2 separate regions of the Homo sapiens genome follow, and region 1 is linked to region 2. The links are contacts of gene promoters, found by promoter capture Hi-C in blood cells and fetal thymus (Javierre and others, 2016). All regions are on one chromosome and are shown on one strand. The core of a region is centred on a gene start or on the middle of the fragment in contact, and the rest is flanking DNA. Distances in the headings are between cores, read along the strand shown. Region 1 holds the start of GLB1L (galactosidase beta 1 like). Region 2 overlaps STK36 (serine/threonine kinase 36).

The links. The method cuts DNA at HindIII sites, captures the fragments that hold promoters and counts their contacts. A CHiCAGO score of 5 or more calls a contact.
Region 1: a contact is called between the fragment with the promoter of GLB1L here and a fragment that was not itself captured in region 2, in 1 of 17 cell types (total CD4 T cells). The highest score is 6.9, in total CD4 T cells.

The regions. Positions count from the first base shown.
Region 1 is chr2:219,241,925-219,247,607 of GRCh38, reverse strand. It overlaps GLB1L (galactosidase beta 1 like), which reads left to right and starts at 2,164. Exons shown (of 17, transcript NM_001286423.2): 1 at 2,164-2,379; 2 at 3,965-4,106; 3 at 4,294-4,460; 4 at 4,690-4,840; 5 at 5,034-5,094. The coding sequence starts at 4,035. STK16 (serine/threonine kinase 16) reads right to left here and starts at 2,129. Exons shown (of 8, transcript NM_001330213.2): 1 at 1,812-2,129; 2 at 1,523-1,712; 3 at 732-951; 4 at 362-495; 5 at 73-193. The coding sequence starts at 1,608. RefSeq lists enhancers at 1,988-2,417, 1,866-2,448. The HindIII fragment of the contact is 6,920 bases long and covers 1-5,279 here.
Region 2 is chr2:218,672,187-218,678,600 of GRCh38, reverse strand. It overlaps STK36 (serine/threonine kinase 36), which reads right to left. Exons shown (of 27, transcript NM_015690.5): 1 at 6,386-6,414; 2 at 5,688-5,860; 3 at 4,836-4,976; 4 at 4,645-4,722; 5 at 3,128-3,258; 6 at 2,323-2,572. The coding sequence starts at 5,771. Among named protein-coding and RNA genes, the nearest start is that of STK36, 3.3 kb to the right of the region's middle. The HindIII fragment of the contact is 1,348 bases long and covers 3,104-4,451 here.

The DNA.
Region 1 (5,683 bases), core at 915-3,414, 570 kb before region 2:
CAAACTGGGACATGCACCAGAAGGGGTGGGAATGGGGAACAGGTGAGAAAAGGAACCTGGAGACTCTTTTACCTGCAGGGTCAGAGCCTGGCGGGAGCCCTCCACATGGATGCATGCTTGATTCATGGAACCCAAGTCCATTAAAACTGGCTGCCCCTCATCTCCAAGCAATATATTGGTGGGCTTCAAGTCTCTGTAGAGAAGTAGAAGTGACCTATGAGCATCTCTGGACAGGAAGGCTGGAATCCCAGCAAGCAAAAGAATCATACAGGCTGTTTCTTGGGAGAACAGAGACCTCCCATGTCTCCTGGTGAGGCTCTTCCTCTGGGCCCCAGCAAGCACACAGGGTCCTCCCACTGACCTGTGGGCATAACCCTTGGCATGAATGGCCTCAAGGCCTCTGCAGATCCCCAGCAGCAGCCAAAGGATTTGATCCTCGGTCAGGAAGTTGCCTTTGTCCTTCAGCCTTTCTATCTCATTCCACAGCGTACCTCTCTGCAACACAAGTTTCCCTACAGTTGGAGATGTTTTTGGAGCCTCTGCTCCTTAGGCCTGATCCCTTCCCTATGTCAAAGCCTATCAGCCCTTTCATGATACACACCTCAAACTCAAAATCTAAAGTGGCCAAACCCAGGACATGGTCCCTGCTTCCTAACATGCTGGACTGCTCACACAGCCCTTGAGTAGGTGGCTCTGCTGCAACCCCCTCCATAACCAGGAGTCTTTCTGACCTTGAAGAATGGTAGCAGCAGCCAGGCCTCATGCTTAGCACCCCGTTCCCTCAGACAGTAAGCCACGAGGCGAAGGATGTTGGGGTGATTGAAGAGGCGATGCATGTCGGCTTCTCGCTGGGCCTCCTCCCGGTCCTGCTGCTCGTGACACAGGATTCGCTTCAGGGCGTAGAAGTGTCCATCATGTAACCCTTCCACTAGGTCCACATAGCTGAACCCACTGTGGGCCAAAGGGGTCAATAAAGGGCCATGGTCATCTCCCACATGGCTTGGACCTAGAGAAATTTCCTGGTGGGGAGTGGGGTGTCCTTCCCATTTAGCAGAAACCTTCCCAAGATGTGGCTCTAAGAGAAATCTGAAGAATATTACACCGTGAGCTCCTCAGGAGCAGAGATATAGAAATCTTTGAGGTCCTATGGTCGTAATAGAGACCTCTGCACTTGACAGATGCTAAATAAATAATAGCCAACACTTATCAAGTACTTGTCAACCCCGCATTGGGTGAGACATTTTATACACATTATCTCATTTAATCCTCACAACTCCATCAGTGAGGGATAATAATCATCTCCATTAAGCTGATGAAAAAAACATGGTTTATCAAGGTCACACGAGGTGGATTTAGCAGGCCTGGCTCCAGAATCCACCTTCTTGATACTGTGTAGCTAGGTTCTGTCAGGTGAGAGAGGACAGGGATAGGGATAAAACCCTTGTGCCCCAAGCATATGCACACCGCTGTCCTTCAATGATCATAAACTTGAGGACTAGTTAACTGACTTCCAAACACTCACCCCTCCCCCAGTTTCTGGATGAAGAGGTAGCGCTTATTGTCAATGATGACAGTTCCCCGAGAGCAGACACACAGCGCGTGGCCCATAATGTCTCAGTCATCCTCTTCAAGGACGGTCTGAGGCTACCGAAGAGCTCGTCCAGGGTGAGTGGGCTCTTCCAGGAGATGCGCTGGGGGCCCAGCGGATCATGCTGGAAAGAAAACAACGGCAGGGTCACAGGTCCGGCACAATCCAGACGACCCATGAAGTACCAATGCGGAGAGCTCAGGCCCAGGTCTCTGGAACCTACACTATAGTGTAGAGAAAACAGGCCCTGCTCCGTCGCCAGCTTCAGGGGTGGGGTCAGGCGCCTTACGGCCTCAGGACACACAGCGGCTACCGGGCCACTTCCTCCAACCCCAGCCCATCTTTGGGCAGCCCCCGCTCCCACGCCCATCGCGCCGCAAAAGCAGAGCATAGCGTAGTTTCAGAGGACGTGCGAGGCTCAGGCCCACTCCTGGCAGGGCCCACCCCGGTCTAGGAGCCCAGAGCCCGGGATGGGCCATCTGCACTGCCGGACTGACCTGGCTCGGGCCAGAGAGAAGCGCCACCGACCGGAAGCAGTGCTGACATCATCAGTCCGCGCCGGCGTAACGGCCCGCGGTATCTCAGCAACCGCTGGGCATCCGGAGGATGTGGGGACGCGGAGCTGAGAGGCTCCGGGCTAGCTAGGTGTAGGGGTGGACGGGTCCCAGGACCCTGGTGAGGGTTCTCTACTTGGCCTTCGGTGGGGGTCAAGACGCAGGCACCTACGCCAAAGGGGAGCAAAGCCGGGCTCGGCCCGAGGCCCCCAGGACCTCCATCTCCCAATGTTGGAGGTAGGAGGCTTCATACCTCTGGCGCTCTGGGGCAGAAAGCGGCCAACTACACTGCAGCCTGGAGGGGGATCCAGTGAGGGGCGGGTCTGGTGGCCTGGTCTCCTGATCCCGTACAACCTTCTGGGCTCTGGCCTGTATCCCACTACCCCTAGTCTCAGTGGTTAAGAGCTCAGGCTTGTGAACCAGACTTCCAGTTTCTAAATTGAGTGTTAATAGCATGCTAGCTGTGTAACCTCGGGCAAGTTACTTAACCTCTCGGATCCTTACTTTTGGTAGCTGTAAAATAGGTATAATAGTACATAAGGTTAAGTAGCTTAACTGTGAGGCCAGACTGACTAGTTCAAATGACAGCTCCGTTAACGTAGTTGTGTGACCTTGGACAGGCTACTTAATGTTTCTGTCCTTTCCTCTCCTCCTCTGTAAAATGGAAATAATTATCTACCTCATGGAGTTGAAGATTAAATGAGATGTACAGTGTTTAATACAATATCTGACACATAGCCTTCAGTACGTGTCAATAAACCGTAATTATTATTACCCTGATCTTCACATCCCATTCTTGAGACTGTAAAGGCAAAAGGAACGGAAATTCACAGATTTTCGAGCTTTGGCACAAAGCAGTTGTCCTTAATATCTGTTGCGGAGGCAGGCAGGGGTAAGCTGGAGAGGGGTGCACTTCCAAAGAAGGTGGAATGGCCAGGAGGGAATGGCTGTTTTGCTGAAACAGGACTCTCCAGGAAAGAGGTCCTTCTTGTGACCTGGTTCCTCCCTTCCACACCCCGGATCACCCTGAAGATTTTCCAATGGTTTCCCCTGGTTCTGAACCTGTTTTAGCCTTTTGGTTATGACATTGATTCATCCAGATTTAACCTACTATATACCCGGCCCTGTGCTAGAGGCTGAGGATTTGAGATGAACAGGGCACTCCCTGTCCTCAGGGAGCCCAGTCAAGTAAAGCCATGCTTCTCAATTTTGAAGGTGCCTAGGATCACCTGGGAATCTTGTTAAAATACAAATTCTGATTCTATAGGTCTGAGGTAGGATCTGAGATTTTACATTTCTTTTGTTTGTTTGTTTGTGTTTTTTGAGACAGAGTCTCGCTCTGTTGCCCAGGCTGGAGTGCAGTGGCAGGATCTCGGTTCACTGCAACCTCCGCCTTCCGGGTTCAAGCAATTCTCCTGCCTCAGCCCCTACCCCCACCCCCACCCCCACCCCCACCCCCACCCTCGGAGTAGCTTGGAATACAGGCGCGTGCCACCAGGCCCGGCTAATTTTTGTATTTTTAGTAGAGACAGGGTTTTGCCCTGTTGGCCAAGCTGGTCTTGAACTCCTGACCTCAAGTGATCCACCCGCCTCGGCCTCCCAAAGTGTTGGGATTACAGGCGTGAGCCATCGTGCCCAGCCAGATTCTCCATTTCTAACAAGTTCCCAGGTGATGTCGATGAAGCTGGTTCGTGAACTGCACTTTAACATGATGTAGAAATTTTACAAACTAGTAGAGTAAGGGGGTGGCTGCAGGCTGGAGAGGAAGTCCAGGCTAAACGCCTGGCAACTTGAGGTGGTTTCCGCCCCCTTGCTCGCTGAGGTTCCCTCCCAGGAATCCGACACGTGACGGTCTGTCCGCCGTCTCAGACTAGAGGAGCGCTGTAAACGCCATGGCTCCCAAGAAGCTGTCCTGCCTTCGTTCCCTGCTGCTGCCGCTCAGCCTGACGCTACTGCTGCCCCAGGTAAGATGAGACGGTGAACCAGCCTGCCGGGTGCGGTGAGCGGGATCAGATCCAGCGGATGAGAGAAAGTCCAAAGTAACAACCAAACAACCCGCAGGGCTAGTTCCATCTCTTCCGCTCTTGGCAGGCGCTGACCCTCGACGCTCCCTCCAGGCGTCTGCTGAGCAGCGTCTCTTTCTCTTTATAGGCAGACACTCGGTCGTTCGTAGTGGATAGGGGTCATGACCGGTTTCTCCTAGACGGGGCCCCGTTCCGCTATGTGTCTGGCAGCCTGCACTACTTTCGGGTACCGCGGGTGCTTTGGGCCGACCGGCTTTTGAAGATGCGATGGAGCGGCCTCAACGCCATACAGTTGTAAGAAGTGCTCGCAAGAGCCGCGGAGGGATGGGATCTACTTTTTCTACCGCCCCCTTATAAAGAAGGTCGGGACAGGAAGACTGCCAGGACTCCTAGGCCAAGGGTGGGAAAGGGCAGGCCAGGACCTCCTTCCAACCGCTTCCTGGAGATTCCCTGCAAGGCCTGAGCCGTTAGGCCTCCCTGGCGTCTCTTCACCTTGGTTCCTATTAACCTCTTCCTTTCTCAGTTATGTGCCCTGGAACTACCACGAGCCACAGCCTGGGGTCTATAACTTTAATGGCAGCCGGGACCTCATTGCCTTTCTGAATGAGGCAGCTCTAGCGAACCTGTTGGTCATACTGAGACCAGGACCTTACATCTGTGCAGAGTGGGAGATGGTGAGTTAGCTGGAGAAGGGATAGAACCAGTTATCCTTGTGCAGTTCCTAGACTACTCCCATCTGCCCACACTCTAGGGCCATCTCCAGCACTATATTCAATTCCTTCCCTTCCTTCCTTCCCTTCCTAGCTTCCCCACCACACCCCAAAACAAAACCTACATGCTTCTTTGTTCTCTTTATGTTTGTCTCAGGGGGGTCTCCCATCCTGGTTGCTTCGAAAACCTGAAATTCATCTAAGAACCTCAGATCCAGGTGAGTTGAGACAAAGGATTTAACACAGAAGCAAGTAAGTAAAATGGGCTATTTGGGTGCCAAAAGCAGAAGAGACCATTCCCAAATTGGAGGTCATCATTCATTTACCAAGTGTTTCCTTCATGCCCAGCAGGATGCTAGAAACTGGGGGACCAGACAGACCCCCATCCTTGTGCCGTAAAGCTTATAATATAGTGGAAGAAACTGATTAAAAAAAAAAAAAACAGCTGGGCGCGGTGGCTCATGCCTGTGATCCCAGCACTTTCAGAGGCCCAGGCGGGTGCATGACCTGAGGTCAGGAGTTTGAGACCCACCTGGCCAACATGGCAAAATCCCATCTCTACTAAAAATACAAAAAATTGGCTGGGCGAGGTGGTGGGCACCTGTAATCCCAGCTACTTGGGAGGCTGATGCAGGAGAATCACTTGGGCCCGGGGGTCAGAGGTTGCAGTGAGCCGAGATTGAACAACTACACTCCAGCCTGGGTGACAGATTGAAGAGACTTTGTCTCAAAAAAGAGAAAATCCTATCAGCTGTATCTTGACAAACATTAAATTTAAGTGCTTTTTATCACCCCCATTGCCCCCAC
Region 2 (6,414 bases), core at 2,528-5,027:
ATCTTTGGGGAAATCCTCAATTGGGCCTCAAATAGGAACAGAGGTATTAGTAGATTATGACCACTGTTCTAAAACAAAGTGAGCTGTATAACTATGGATCTTGCTGGAGATACCTGAGTATCTGCCCATAGGGAGAATGAATATCCTATGTGCACCGCTTCCACTTAAGATTCCTTCATTTAGATTATTCTTGACAATTATTCGGGCCCCCTCAACTAAACAGGGGAGGAATTTGTTGTCCCTTTTCATCTCAGATAAAGCAAAGCTACAATAAGGTTTCACTCTGGGAGAAGACTGCATTTAAATTCTATTGAAAATCCATAATCTTGCCCTACATAAAAAATAAAAGAAGGTTGGGTGCAGTGGCTCATGCTTGTAATCCTAACTCTTTAGGAGTTGAGACAGGAAGATTGCTTGAGGCCAGGAGTTTGAGACAAGCCTGGGCAACACAGTGAGACCCTGTCTCTAAAAAATTTTAAAAAAAATTTAATTAATTAAAAAAGAAATAGAGGCCAGGAGCAGTGGCTCACGCCTGTAATCCCAGCACTTTGGGAGGCCAAGGTGGGCAGATCGCGAGGTTGGGAGATTGAGACCATCCTGGCTAACACGGTGAAACCCCGTCTCTACTAAAAATTACAAAAAATTAGCCAGGTGTGGTGGTGGGCACCTGTAGTCCCAGCTACTCAGGAGGCTGAGGCAGGAGAATGGTGTGAATCTGGAGGGCGGAGCTTGCAGTGAGCCGAGATCGTGCCACTGCACTCCAGCCTGGGTGACAGAGTAAGACTCCATCTCAAAGAAAAAAGAAATAGAAAAGAAGTCCAACTCCTCTTCTACTCTTCCCTCCTCCAGACTACTGACTTAGTCACAATGAGTAGGCACCACCTCTATCATCTGCCCCTAATCACTGAACCAGCTCCACCAGCTCTCACCATTCTGATAGCTTTGGACTGAAAGCTATGTAGATAACATCTAGAATGTGGACATAGCATCTGACAGGAAGTAAGTGGAATAGATGGCATGTAAGAGGACCAGTATCGATCTCTAGTATCTTCCAATTACCTTTTCATTGTGATAAAGCATAGCCTGGCTCAAACTGGAGTTACCATTCTCAGGTTTGGCAAACTTTAGAACACCCTCCCAGAATTAAGACCCTGCAGTAGAAAAGCAAGGCTGCCTGGCCCAGCTCTGGCATTGATATGGTTTGGATTTGTGTCCCCGTCCAAATCTCATGTCGAATTGTAATACCCAATGTTGGAGGAGGGGTCTGGTAGGAGGTGACTGGATCATGGGGGAGGACTTCCCCCTTGCTGTTCTCATGATAGTGAATGAATTTTCACGAGATCTGGCTGTTTAAAAGTGTGTAGCCCTGGCCGGGTGCAGTGGCTCAAGCCTATGATCCCAGCACTTTGGGAGGCCAAGGCAGGCGGATCACCTGAGGTTGGGAGTTCGAGACCAGCCTGACCAACATGGAGAAACCTCATCTCTACTAAAAATACAAAATTAGCCAGGCATGGTGGTGCATGCCTGTAATCCCAGCTACTCGGGAGGCTGAGGCAGAAGAATTGCTTGAACCTGGGAAGCAGAGGTTGCGGTCAGCCGAGATCGCGCCATTGCAGTCCAGCCTGGACAACAAAAGCAAAACTCTGTCTCAGGCTGGGAGCAGTGGCTCATGCCTGTAATCCCAGCACTTTGGGAGGCTGAGGCAGGCGAGTCACGAGGTCAGGAGATCAAGACCATGCTGGCTAACACGGTGAAACCCCGTCTCTACTAAAAAATACAAAAAAATTAGCCGGGTGTCGTGGTGGGCACCTGTAATCCCAGCTACTCAGGAGGCTGAGGCAGGAGAATGGTGTGAACCTGCAAGGCAGAGCTTGCAGTGAGCCAAGATCACGCCACTACACTCCAGCCTGGGTGACAGAGCGAGACTCTGTCTCAAAAAAAAAAAAAGAAAAAAAAACTGTGTCTCAAAAAAAAAAAAAAAGCGTGTAGCACCTTTCCTTTCTCTATCTTCCTCCTGGTCCACCACGTAAGACATGCCTGTTTCCCCTTTGCTTTCCGTCATGATTGTAAGTTTCCTGAGGCTTCCCCAGCCATCCTTCCTGTACAGGCTATGGAGCTGTGAGCCAATTAAACCTCTTTTCTTTATAAAATACCCAGTCTCAGGTGGTTCTGTATAGCAATGCGAGAACAGAATAACACAGCCATTAATTCAGTAACTGCAAAGTCCCGCCTCAGCTCTGGAAAAGGATTTGGAAAAAGGAACAGAGATAGAGGGAGACAGATTTCTAATGTAAAAGTCATCTCCCTTTCAATATTCATTACCTTAAAGCAGGGACTGATGGTTGAGGGCCAGCGCACAGGGTCCTTGAGAATGAGGCTGACCAGCTGAAAGATGCTTGTAGCATAGAAGGGAGGGGTGCCTACTGCCAGTTCATATAGTATGCAGCCAACAGACCAGAGGTCCGCTGTGTGGTCGTATGGTCGCTCCTCCACCAGCTCTGGAGACATATAGAGTGGTGTGCCTTTGATGGATGTCAGCACCATTGTATTGGTGCTCATAGCCCGGGCAAATCTGCAGAAGATAATGGGATGGAAATGGAAAGGGAAAAGATATTCTAAACCTGGTCACTACTACCTAACATAGAGATATCCCAAACCGGAGCAGAGGGAGCACCTTTGATTAGGTTCCAGAAGACCCAGCAGCAGTCCCAGCCTCTAGCTCCGGTTCTAAAATGAGGCCCAAATAAGTCAAGAGTATGGTCTAAGATTCCCTGTGGGGCCAGGCTCAGTGGCTCATGCCTGTAATCCCAGCACTTTGGGAGGCCGAGGTGGGCAGATCACCTGAGGTCAGGAGTTCGAGACCAGCCTGACCAACATGGAGAAACCCCATCTCTACTAAAAATATAAAATTAGCCAGGCATGGTGGCACATGCCTGTAATCCCAGCTACTCTGGAGGCTGAGGCAGTAGAATTGCTTGAATCCGGGAGGCAGAGGTTGTGGTGAGTGGAGATCGCACCATTGCACTTCAGCCTGGGTAACAAGAGTGAAACTCCATCTCAAAAAAAAAAAAAAAAAAAAAGATTCCGTGTGGAACTGGAAGCTTAGATGGATGCTCAGAATCTTTACCCAAAGTCACAGAGCTTGATGCCACCACCCTTGGCGAGGAGGATGTTCTGAGGCTTCATATCTCGGTGTAGGATGCGGTGGGAATGCAGATAGTACAGGGCTGACACCAACTGGGCAGCAATGGCCTGAACCTAGAAATTAAAGAGGTGGAAGAAAGAAAAAAAAGGTTAGAAACAGCAGCTGGCTGACAAGCCCAAAAATTTCTCTTAATATTACTGCTAATCTTTTCTTCCTTCCCTTTCTTGCAGAGCTTCACACTATTCTTTCTTAGTTATTGTTCCCCTTGTTTAATCACTCTTTCATTTGCTCATTCATTCATTCAAGAAAAATTTATTGAATCTCATTTACTATCTGCTTGACCATGGGCAAACTAAGGTGACAATCTATATAATAACACCATCTACATGGAGGATTATTGTGAGGACTGAGTTAAAGCATGCAAAATAATACTCAGAATGGTGCCTGGCACATAGTAAATATTCAATACACATTACCTGTTATTAAATAAGACAAAATGCCTTTTTTCAAGAAAAGTAGTCAGACAAACAAACAAGACAGATAAAACAAATATGGTGGTCGGGCGTGGTGGCTCACACCTGTAATACCAGCACTTTGGGAGGCTGAGGCGGGCAGATCACCTGAGGCCAGCAGTTCGAGACCAGCCTGGCCAGCATGGTGAAACCCCATCTCTACTAAAAGTACAAAATTAGCTAGGCATGGTGGCGCATGCTATAATCCTGGTTACTGGGGAGGCTGAGGCACGAGAATTGCTTGAACCTGGAAGGCGGAGTTTGCTGTGAGCCAAGATTGTGCCACTGCACTCCAGCCTGGGCAACAAAGCGAGACTCTGTCTCAAAAAATAAAATTCAATTAAAAATAAAATAATTTCAAAAATATGATTACTTACAAATAGTGGTGAGTGCTCAGAAGGAAAGAGAATGCTGCAATAATGAATCCCAGGGGGGGCCTACTTGCTTGGGTACAGACAAACGCCTAGAATAAATGTGGCTGGAGGATATGTGCAACAAAATCCCACTGCTAACCACTACGTCCTGGTGCCAAATCCTGACTCCCCACAACCTTTATTCTTACTGCCCTCTTTCTGGTACCATTACACTGGCCCTTCTTCCCTAAAGGTATCTAATAACAATAATGTTAATAATAGCTAACTATTCAAACACATTACATGACTTAACACTCTTCATCATAGACTTATCAGGCAAACATGATTATTATCTCCATTTTACAAATTAGGAAACTAAGCACAAAGAAATTAAAGTAACTTGTCCAATGAGACCCAGCTAGGAAGGAGCAGAGCCAAGCTTCCTGCTCAGATATTTTGACTCCAACGTTTACATAATTTACTCCCACACTACACTGCCTCTATATACCTAGACTCTTATATTCTTCTCAGAAGTCTTTGAAATGGAGACTCTCAGTGTCCTTAGCTTGCTCTACCAGTTCTCTAACCTGGAGAGAGGTCGGAGGTGGGGAGAAGTTGAAGGCAGAAAGCATACCTGGTCTTCAGGAAGTTTTCCGTCATCTTCTAGGATCTGAAAGAGCTCTCCCTCAGCATAGTCTGTCACCACCACCACCTACAGAGAGAAGGCAGTGGCACTGATGGCTCCAGATTCATGCATTCTGAGGTTGGGAAATTCCTGGAACCCTTGTGCTTGGGGAGACAGGGCCCAAAACTGTCAAAGCACACCTCTTTATCAGTTTCAAAGCTGTCAAGCATATGCACAATGTTGGGATGCCGCAGACCCCGCATTATTTCAATCTCTCGTTGCAAATTCCTCAGCTCCTTCTCTGAGCGCCCCAATTTTGGGATGAACTTCAGGGCCACGACCTGTCAGTGGTAAGGTGAAAAGTTAACGCCTAATCACACTACTGAAAAGATCTAGAATTTCAGCCTTAATCTCAGAGCTCCAGAAGTCAGATTTTAGAGTGTTTGAGTAACTCTTATTATTTCTGTTAGTCTCCCGCTTCCATTTTCTCCATGGTACCCTGGCCTTATCCAGGCTTTCCCCATTCCTCATCCCAGGAGGAAACAGCATCTGCAAAACATTTCCCCTTCTGGAAGAAGTGTTCTGATTTGACCAGCACTCAAGATGAGATTTAGGAGAAAGGAAAGGAAAAAAAAAATGAAGAGGAAATAATAGAGTTCAAGTGGTTTACCTCTTATTACATGGTGTGCTAGAGACTAATAATATTTGTTGTTTACTAACAGCCAGGCACTGTACTAAGTGATTTAATGTGAAAACATATTTAATCCTCAAACTCCATCAATCAGTTGCTGTTCTTATCCCCATTCTAGAGATAAGGAAATTGAGACATAGGGAAGTTAAGTAATTTGTCCATAATTCTAGGGCTAGAAAGCGGTGGAGATGGAATTTGCACCCAAATAATCCAACTTCAAAGCTTATACTCCATAAGAAGTATGAGGGAGTCAGTACCTTAGGAATACAAACTGGTATAAATACATTCCTTCTAGATCCATTTTCCACTGGAGTTGGGGGTACCAAATCCCACCCAAAAGGTATCCCTCTTTGTGCAACACCTGAGCACTGTATTTTCTTCGACCCTTGTACACCCTCCCAAAAGAGCCTTCTCCAATCATCTCCAACACGTGGTACTTTTCCATGACAGAGGTTTCAGGATCTCTTAGAAGGAAGAAAGTAGAGACGGTGAAGAGCTATAGATCCAGGGACAGTTCCACAACATCTGGGACGCCTAGTTGGGGCACGGGAAAGGAAAAATGTTAGCCACCTTGCCTTTTCCTCTTTTTCACAATAAAGCCTCAAAAAACATGGGAGGGTGGAATGCATGCAAAGATGATGCGCTCTTGGAACAAACAGAGCTTCTCTTTGTAGTTCCTCCCCACTTTCATCCTCCTGTCCCCAACCCGGCCCCATGCCCAACTAACACCTGGTTCCCCTTCTCCCTCACCCAGCCTGGCTCACTCGACCCTACTCTTTCAACCTAGCCTCGCCCAACCAACCCTGCTCCTTTGAGTCTCCCCCAAGTTCCTGCCACTCCCAGACTCCTCAGCACCCGCTCTCAGACCCCCTGGCCCGTGCGCTTCGCAGGCCAGAGCCCCTCTCTCACCCCCAGCCTAGGAGCTCCAAGCTCCTCAGGCCAAGGGACGGATTCCCTGGCGTTTAGCCCCATCTCTTCTGGCTGCCTGCATACGTTGCCTGACTTATAATTCTTCTCCACCCGCCTCTCCCTCCGGTCTCTTTCGGCTCCCTTTCTTACAATTTTACTCGCTAGAACTGGTGAGAAGT